Linked DNA regions of Homo sapiens: region 2 is linked to region 1. Evidence: promoter capture Hi-C in human tissues and cell types (Jung and others, 2019). All regions are on one chromosome and are shown on one strand. The core of a region is centred on a gene start or on the middle of the fragment in contact, and the rest is flanking DNA. Distances in the headings are between cores, read along the strand shown. Region 1 holds the start of FSIP2 (fibrous sheath interacting protein 2). Region 2 has its middle 62 kb from the start of FSIP2.

Region 1 (4,332 bases), core at 1,151-3,650:
ATGGTCGACAGAGAAAATGGCAATAGAGTAAAATAATATATTTAAGGGAGGAGACAAAAGCCACAGTTCTAAGTTTATGCACTAAAGAGGAATTATATCACCTGTAATGGAATAAATTTCAAGCACGTTTTTGCAAAGTTAGTTTGTGTGGATGTGACTCAAGTTGTGTGAAGTTGGTATATTTGTAGTTCACTTGCTCTAATCTAGTAGAACAGATTAGTTTTTTTTAAAGAGCAATTATACTTTTTTTCAGAAACAAAACTTGTTTTAAGAAATCATGTTTATTTAGTGTGTTAGATTGACTGTATGCCCCCAAAATTCATATGCAATCCTAATCTTCAGTGTGATGGCATTAGGAGCTGGGGCCTTGGGGGATAATTAAGTCATGAGGGTGGAGTCCTCATCAAGGGAGATAATGTTCCTATAGAGACCACAGGGAACTCTCCAGCCTTCTTTCTACCATGCAGGGAGGTAATAATGAAAGGACTTCAAAGGACCCCCACGAGAATCTGACCATGCTGGTGTCCTGATCTTGGACTTCCAGCTCCAGAACAATGATAAATAAATTTACGTTATTTCTAAGCCACCCAGTCTATGGTACATTGTTATAACAGCCTGAACTGTATAAGACATTAAGCAAGTATCAAATACCAAGGGGTTCTATTTATTTCTGATGACATCATAGACATTAGAAGGGTAAGTGGGCCACTTAGAATTCTTTCTTGTAGAACTTTTTGCAAAACTGATAAAAGCAACCAGTCAACAAGAATGTACTAAACCTCCTTCAGCATTGACTACTTAGTCAAAGGCTGGGGAGGTTTGGGGGTAGGTGTGGTGTTAAGGACTAAAAACATGAAAAGGCTTAAGGGAAGTACACACTATAATCCAGTATGATTAACTATGGTTTGTGTAAGTGAGATCACACAAATCAAGGGCAACGTGAACTCTAAGCAAAAATAAGCTAACGGGGGGGCTATCACAGTTCAGAGAATCTTGATAGCTCAGATTCATAGACTGGGGAGAAGAAGACAAGGTATGCCAGGTTTGGGGGCAAAGTTGACAAAATACTGAAGTATTAGCATGGTATTTATGGGTAGGTGTGAAAGACTCAACTTGAAGAAGCTGAGCCTCTCTGGTTGGAGACAATGCTGGATGGAAAGGCTGGGGCAAATTATGGAGTCTCTTCCTCATTGAGGCAGGGCTTTCTTTCATTAAAGTAAGGTTAAAGTACTAAACATATTAACTCATTTTAAGTCCCACTGTTTCAGTTCTTTTTTTTTTCTTTATGTGTAAAATAGAATTCAACTCAAAACAAAATAATGTTTCCCGTGAAGAGAGTTTGGTCCAAGATACTGTCAGTTAAAATCGTAACATATCATTAAATGGCAGCTATCACTAATAACCTTTCAGCTTCTAAACATGTTTCTAAGTACATCAAATCTTACTATATAAGTATATATGAAGTTTTATTATAAGGAATATTAATATGGTACCGTGAATTGTTAATTAAGGACTAAGAATCTAAACTTTCTGGAATATGATTATGTCCAAACCATTAAGATGAAAGTGCTTCATATGCATTCTAAACAATACCTTCGGTCAGATGTGGGATTTTCTTTTTCCTGTAAATGTTGATGCAAATTCCTTTAATGAATTTTGTATGATGCAGCCTTTGAGTTAAACAGCAAGTAGTAAAGGGTAAAGGAAAGAAAGACGATAAAAACTTGTTCACCTTTTCACCGAAATTCGTAGTATAGAATACAGCATTGCTTCCTGGGATCACAGGCAGCTTGACCCCGAGAGGTAGGTCCAGTAGCTGAGCCGGTCCAACCCCTGCAAAGTGGGTTTTGTGCACGCCCTGTCAGACACAATTGGAGAGTTTTGTCTTTCCTTTTAGGCAGTATTAGTTTAGTTTAGACCAATCTACTTCCATTGCAACCAAAGACTCCGAAGAATTATACAATCAGGGTTCGGGGCATCCTGAAGTCCTCCCGTTTTCCCTGGTCACCAGCTCTCCTGGCGTCCCGCGCCTGCCAGTTGCGGCCGGTACAGTCCGAGCCACCGCCACCGCCCCCGGGCGCCGCAAGAGGGCAGCCTCCTGACGGGGGACAGTTGGGAGCCTCGCGACCCGTGTGTGGCGATCCCTGCCCCGCTCCCCAGCAGGCCTGCGGCCGCCAGAGGGCGACGCCGCCCAGCTTGCGGCCACTCACGTCTCTGCACTGCTGGGTGTCCGCGGCCAGGACGCTGGCGACCGTCTTGGTGACGGCGACTTTGGCAGGCTTGGAGCAGGCGCCGAGGTACAGCTCCATGGCCGGCACAGCCCCCTCAGCCCCTTCCTCACCCGCCCCGCTCTCCTTCTCTAGCACCCCGTTGTCCCTCTGTCCGGACCTGACCAGGAATGGCCAGAGCCCAACGACCTCAGCCCCGCCCCCCGCGTTCCAGGCTTCCAATGGTAGCGGCCCCAGAAGGGCGGTGGCCTCCTGAGGGGCGGCTCGCGCCAGCGCGTAGAGCGCCCGCAGAGCTGGGAAAATCGGTCCGAGAGGCCTGATCTGAGAGGACCACAGTTGAAACTTCATCTTTCTCTGAAACCATCACGCCTTAGCCAATCCTAACGAAAACGTATAAGCTTTGTTGGTGGGTAACTGGTTAATTTCCCCTGGCTTCCAAGGAGCCCTGTTCCGTTCAATAAAAATTCCCGAGTGATTGTTTTTGCCCATTCTACATCTTCCCCCATATAGACCACACCCCATCCCCAGGCTCCCACAGCTTCTTCCCACACCAGGTCCACAAGGCAGACGCGTTGGCTTCCTAAGGGGCTCATTGCCTTCCTCCTGCCTCTTCTGTCCCCTAGGTTTCCTTCTCCTTTCTAGCGCCCTTTACCACTCTCCCACTGCCTCCTCTCTGCTCCTGCAGCTTGATCCTATTTCCCTCTTTCTCCTCAACCATCCAGCCGAAATTTATAAAGTGCTTGACGCTTCTGGGCCAGTCATTGAGCTAAGCACTGGGCAGGACACAGCCGTGAGTAAAATATGGCCCCTGACTGTAAGAAGCTAACTAGACTGGGAGTATTCTGAGGGCAGAGACAGTATGTGTCTAACCCACCTGTTGTTTAGACTTAACTTCATACTTTCTTTGGTCCACTGCTGTTCTCTTTTATTTCTGGCCCGACTAGTAATAACAGTTACCATTTCTTCAGAATCTACTAACTTCCATATACTGTGCCAAACACCCTTTTAAACATTTATTTATTTTAGTAGCCTTATCAATAATTACTCTTTATTTTTCAAAGATTGAGGAAGACTGACAATTGCTGTTAAATGGTGGCTCCTGAGGCTGTTTTCTTAATCAGTGCACTCTGCTCTCTTTGTTGTAATTCCACACATGTGCTTAGGACTCTTAAATTTGAAATCTAAGCTTGGGATATAGTCTATTGCCAGCTTCCATATGGATATCCCACAATTGTCTTAAATTCAATCTACTCAAATCTCAACACACAACTTTCACCAAAACAGGAAAAAAAAACAAAGGCTTCTTCCTGCATTTCCTATCTCAGTGACAATACCAAAGTCTACCCAAGCCAGAAACTAAGGAATGCTTCTAGATACTTCTTTTTCCCCTTATCTCCCATGTTTAGTTGGTCCCCAAGTCCCACTAATTTTATCACTAAAATTAATTTGCCCGATTCTATCTACTCCTACTTTACTCTCCCGGTTAAGCCGCTAATCATTTTTTGTTTGTTTGTTTGTTTGCACCATTGCCACAGCCTTATAACATCTCCCTGCCACCATCTACCCCAAAAATCCATCTTGTATCAATTTGATCTTTGATGGCAAACTGACCATTTCTCTTCCTCACTTTAAACTCCCAACTGCCCTCAGCGCAAAGTGTGTAATGGCCTCTGTTACTTGGTCTCTGTATCAGTTTCTTATTGCCAGCAAATCACCACAAACTTAGTGGCTTAAATTACCACAAATATATTACCTTACAGTGATGGAGGTTAGTAATCCAAAGAGAATCTCACTGGGCAGAAACCAGTGTATTGGAAGTGCTGTGTTCTTTCTGGAAGCTCTAGATCACAACCTATGTTCTTGCCCTTTCCAGCTTCTAGAAGTTGCCTCTTCCTCACACGTTAAATCTGGCAATGTAACATCTTCAAACCTCTCTCTGACTCAGACCTCTGCTCCTTCTCTTCTACAATTAAAGAATCATTGTGATTACATTGGGCCCATCTAGGTTATCCATGCTAATTTATCTATCTTAAGATCAGCTGATTAGCAACCTTAATTCCATTAGCAATCTTAATTCCTCTTTGCTATGAAATATTCACATACT
Region 2 (4,332 bases), core at 521-3,020, 61 kb after region 1:
ACAATTATGAAGGAAAGTTCCAAATTATGGAAACAAGACCTCTGAAGTGGATAAATTGCCAAAAAAAAAGAAAATATTTTTTTATTTTGACTCCTTAAGGGCTTTATTTTATTTACATAACAAGGCTACCTTTCTGCTAGCCAGGCCAAACTGAAAGAGCAATGGCAGTCTCCCCATGCTGCAGTTCCATAGCTAAGGTTCTGCCTTCATTTTTTCCACCATGACAGCCTGGGTTTAGTTCCTAAGTCAAGTCCTTTATGGTTTGATACTTGACACTTCTGAAGTAGCAGCAATTTTTCCTAGCTTAAATATGGTAATGAAATTTTAAAAGATTTTTTGTTAAAGGAGATCAATGGTTAAAAGTCAGCTTAATTAAAAGCTAACATCCAAGATGTGTGTGTGTGTGTGTGTGTGTGTGTGTTTGTATGTATGCCTGTGTGTGTTTGTATTTAAAAGGCCTTCATGTTTTTGTTGTTGTTTGTTGTTTTTTCTCTCCTAGGACCTTGTCTTTTTTTGAGCAAAAGTTTTTTTTCTTCCAGTTAAATGAATTCTGTTTTCTTCATTTACTTCTGCTGGCTCTCCTTTCTCTTGCACCCTCTGCTGCATGAGGGACCTCAAATAGTTTATGACAGCCTGAGGTTCCTTAAAGAAAATGGAGAAGGCGCCAGGCTCCCTTTTGGGGAGAAACCTCTGTCTTTCCTTATGGAATCCCAACAGTGTAAACAGACAAATTTGTCTCAGCTCTTAAAGTGCTTCCTTTTGTACTGTGTTACCTGAATTTTTGACTAAAATAGCTATTGCAAAAGAGGCTACTCTTGGGTTTTTAAGGAAGAGTATAGTTTAGACATTTAGAAATGTCTTTGTTTAAAAATAAAAATTTAAGTGCACTGTAAAAGCATCATGTGATTTAGCCTCATAATAATTCTCCCCTTTTGAAGACTCAGGATTCAGGGTGGTCTCTGCCCAGACCTCAGAGATCCAGTTAAAAGATTGGTAGTCCCTATCTAAATAAAATTGGCCTCCTTATTCAATCTTATAATAGGTTTCTATAATTTTATGTTTTATTTTGTATCCACCTTTAATCTCCCTCTAGCACCACCTGACTTTTTCTCTCCATACCTTGAGATGTATATTTTGCTACCTGATTTTTCATCTAAGAGTTGTTTCCTTCGATATGCAGATTTAGAGCTATTTAGCTGACAACTGTCAGGGTAATGAAACAGGTTATCAAGAGTTTGCAAGTCTAAGATAGGAAAAATAAAAACAAGGGGATCTTAGAAATCTATAAGATGTACTTCTATCGGGATGCCTAATACGTCTATGTATTTATGTGTTGTATACACAACTACTAAAAATATATAAAAGAGCTCTACTTAATTTGCTTAAAGAAAAATAAAAGCACTTAAATACTTTATCAGAAAAAAAGGAGACTAGTCAAATGCTTTTTTAAGTCTATGTGTCTTAAGTAAAATCTTTATTAAATAAGGTAGCTTTAAAATTATTGGTAAAGTAATATTAGAAATGTCTTAAGAATTGCCAACATACATTTTAGTTTGCATTTATTTATCAAGAAATTTTACACTTATCCCCGCCAAATACTATAAGGTGTCAAAATCTGGCATAGGGGTTATAAAACTATAAACCCAGCCCAAAACAGAATGATATTTGCTTGTGTAATTTTAAACATATAAGACATTGATACTGGTTTACTGACAATAGCTACATCTTGAATTAGTAAAATTACCATAACTTCTAATCTTGTGGCTTTAAGCAGTCTAGTCCATAGGCAGGAAGGAGGTTTGTTTTGGGAAAGGACTGTTATCATCTTTGTTTCAGAGGTAAACTATAAACTAAGTTCCTCCCAAAGTTAGTTGGGCCAACTCCCAGGAATGAAAAAGGGCAGCTTGGAAGTTAGAAGCAAGATGGAGTCAGTTAGGTCAGATATTTTTCACTGTCTCTGTTATGGCAGCTTCATAACTTTAAATTATGACTATCACAGTTTTCATAAATCTAGGTAAACAATTAAAATAAAATAATTAGGTAAATATAATGGGATAAATACTTGTAGAGAAACTTGTCATATTTAGAATCTAAAGTTATATTAAATTAAATAATTGATACTTCATTATTTGGGTATTTTTTAATAAAAACATATTGTAAGAAAACATTCTTTCTAAAAAAAGTGTTCTTTTAAAAAAGTGAATTTTTTTTTTCTAATTCAAAGCTTATTTAAAAGTTATGCATAAAACAAGGTAAAAGGAAACAGGAAATAAGAGAGATGTAAAGAAAGTTATAGAAATAAAGAGGTATTTTTTGGTAAGAAAGCTTAAAGATAAATAATATTCTATGAGAAAGAATCTTGTATGGTAAATTTTGTCCTTGAATAAAATGACTCGTTATTTAATAAAGAGGGATGTTCAGGACAAAACAGAAAGTCCAAGCATGTCAAGCATTGTCTGTATAAGTCATAATACGAGGATTTATAAAATGAACAAACAAGCAAAAACTTTTATACAATCAAGTTGTCTATAATTTAAGGGAAATTATAATGATTTATCTAGAGATTGAATTTGATATTAAAAAAACACTTGTACACTAAAAAATTGGTTAGAACAATGAAATTTTCTGAACTAGCCAGCCATTGGGTGGAAGTTTGACTATATTTGATCTCCTTCCACCCTAATGGGGCTGCAATTTATCCTTACTGAAACTGATAAATATTTCAGACATAGTTTTGTCTTCTTCCTAGAGTGATTCTGCCAGTACCACTGTCTGAAGGCTAACAGATGGCCTCTAAACCAGTATGACATCCTTCAGTGAGATGTCTGGTTTCATTGCAAAGAAGGTGTGACAATAGGCATATGAACAAACAACCCACGGCTATTTCCATACAGTGAATCATTCAGATGCAGCTAGCCACATAGTATAATAATAGGGCCTTGGCTAAGTGGCCAGCTCAGGAATGACAGCCTGTGGGTACTGTCTTCCAGAATGTAGTATATGTACTAAACCTATAGTTGATATAAACAGGGCTAGGCACCATATAGTTACAATGCACAGGATTTGTAGTCGATGATAGAAATAGGATTGGAACTCTCACTATCACCCTTAGCCACACCACCAATGTGTGAAATTTAATGCATGCTGTCTGTGCACTTTTACATCGTGAGAGTTTAGAGGTTTGGGTTTATTAAGAGGAGCATGCTTCTGCTTAGGGAAACTGTGAAGACTGTTCCCCTTCCTAATAGCACCCAATTCACAACAGACTCCAGCGAATCTCTCCAGAGAATGTCTCCCGAGAATCACTCAGCTAAAGCCACATCCTGTAACAAGACCATCTTAGCTCCTTGCAGAGGCACCATCCAGTTTCATGGCTAGGTATTCTCTCATCCTGCAGCAAATGAATAAATCTAACTTTGTTTTATTTCATGTGTGTTGTTAATGGTTTACATCTATGGAAATTAGCAGTATATTTTAGATCTTCACTGGAAATTGAAAGCTGTTAAGGCATAGGGCCATGTTGTCTAGATGGTCCTCGGGAATTGTTGAATTACACCATTTGAATGAATAGTATTTTGCCTGTAACAAAAGTATGCTATTATATCTGGGAGCAGTTTAAATGTAAAAATTGTACTCTATAATAATTGCATATGAATGTATTAGTCATACTATACCTATTATTACATGTTCTAGAAAGATAATGCTTTTGTAACCCAGGTACTTTTTAAATAGAATTTGATGAATAACCAACACGTATTACATTTAAACTAAGTCATCATTGTATTTATTGTTTAAACCAATTTTTGTGCCATCTGTCTTATTTGTGGCTGCAACATCTGAATAATTCCTCCTAAAAAAAATCAAATTAAAGCAACAGCAGTAATAGAGGTAAAAGGATAAAAATTTCAGCTGTTTTTCAGATTTATCTACAATTTTTTTATTGTGGCCTAAAACACCTTGGAACCTGTTTTCAAAGGTGATTCATGTAATTAGAATCATGTTAAAAATGTATTTTAATAGACTATAACTTTGAAAATTTGGAACATTACTATATTAGAGGCACTCTTGATGAAAGAGAGATAAACAATTCACACTAAACCAAATCTGAGACCTACTTCGTTTAGAAAGTGCCAAGTTTTGTAATATAGCAGTCCCCCTTATCTACAAGAGATATGTTCCAAGACTCTCAGTGGATGCCTGGAACCATTGATAGTGCTGAACGATATATATAATATGTTTTCTTTTTTCCTGTGCATATATACCTATAATAAAGTTTAAATTATAAATTAGACACATTAAGATATTAAAAACAATATTAATAAAATGGAACAA

The links. Contacts are between HindIII fragments. The study calls those that stand out against the background at their distance.
Region 2: a contact is called between a fragment that was not itself captured here and the fragment with the promoter of FSIP2 in region 1, in 2 of the 25 tissues and cell types used here (aorta and mesendoderm cells).

Annotation. Positions count from the first base shown.
Region 1 is chr2:185,736,872-185,741,203 of GRCh38, reverse strand. FSIP2 (fibrous sheath interacting protein 2) reads right to left here and starts at 2,400. Exons shown (of 23, transcript NM_173651.4): 1 at 2,211-2,400; 2 at 1,733-1,858. The coding sequence starts at 2,309. It overlaps FSIP2-AS2 (FSIP2 antisense RNA 2), which reads left to right and starts at 727. Exons shown (of 3, transcript NR_110217.1): 1 at 727-825. RefSeq lists a silencer at 1,999-2,268. The HindIII fragment of the contact is 10,800 bases long and covers 1-3,020 here.
Region 2 is chr2:185,675,093-185,679,424 of GRCh38, reverse strand. No RefSeq gene overlaps it. Among named protein-coding and RNA genes, the nearest start is that of FSIP2, 62 kb to the left of the region's middle. The HindIII fragment of the contact is 6,612 bases long and covers 1-4,332 here.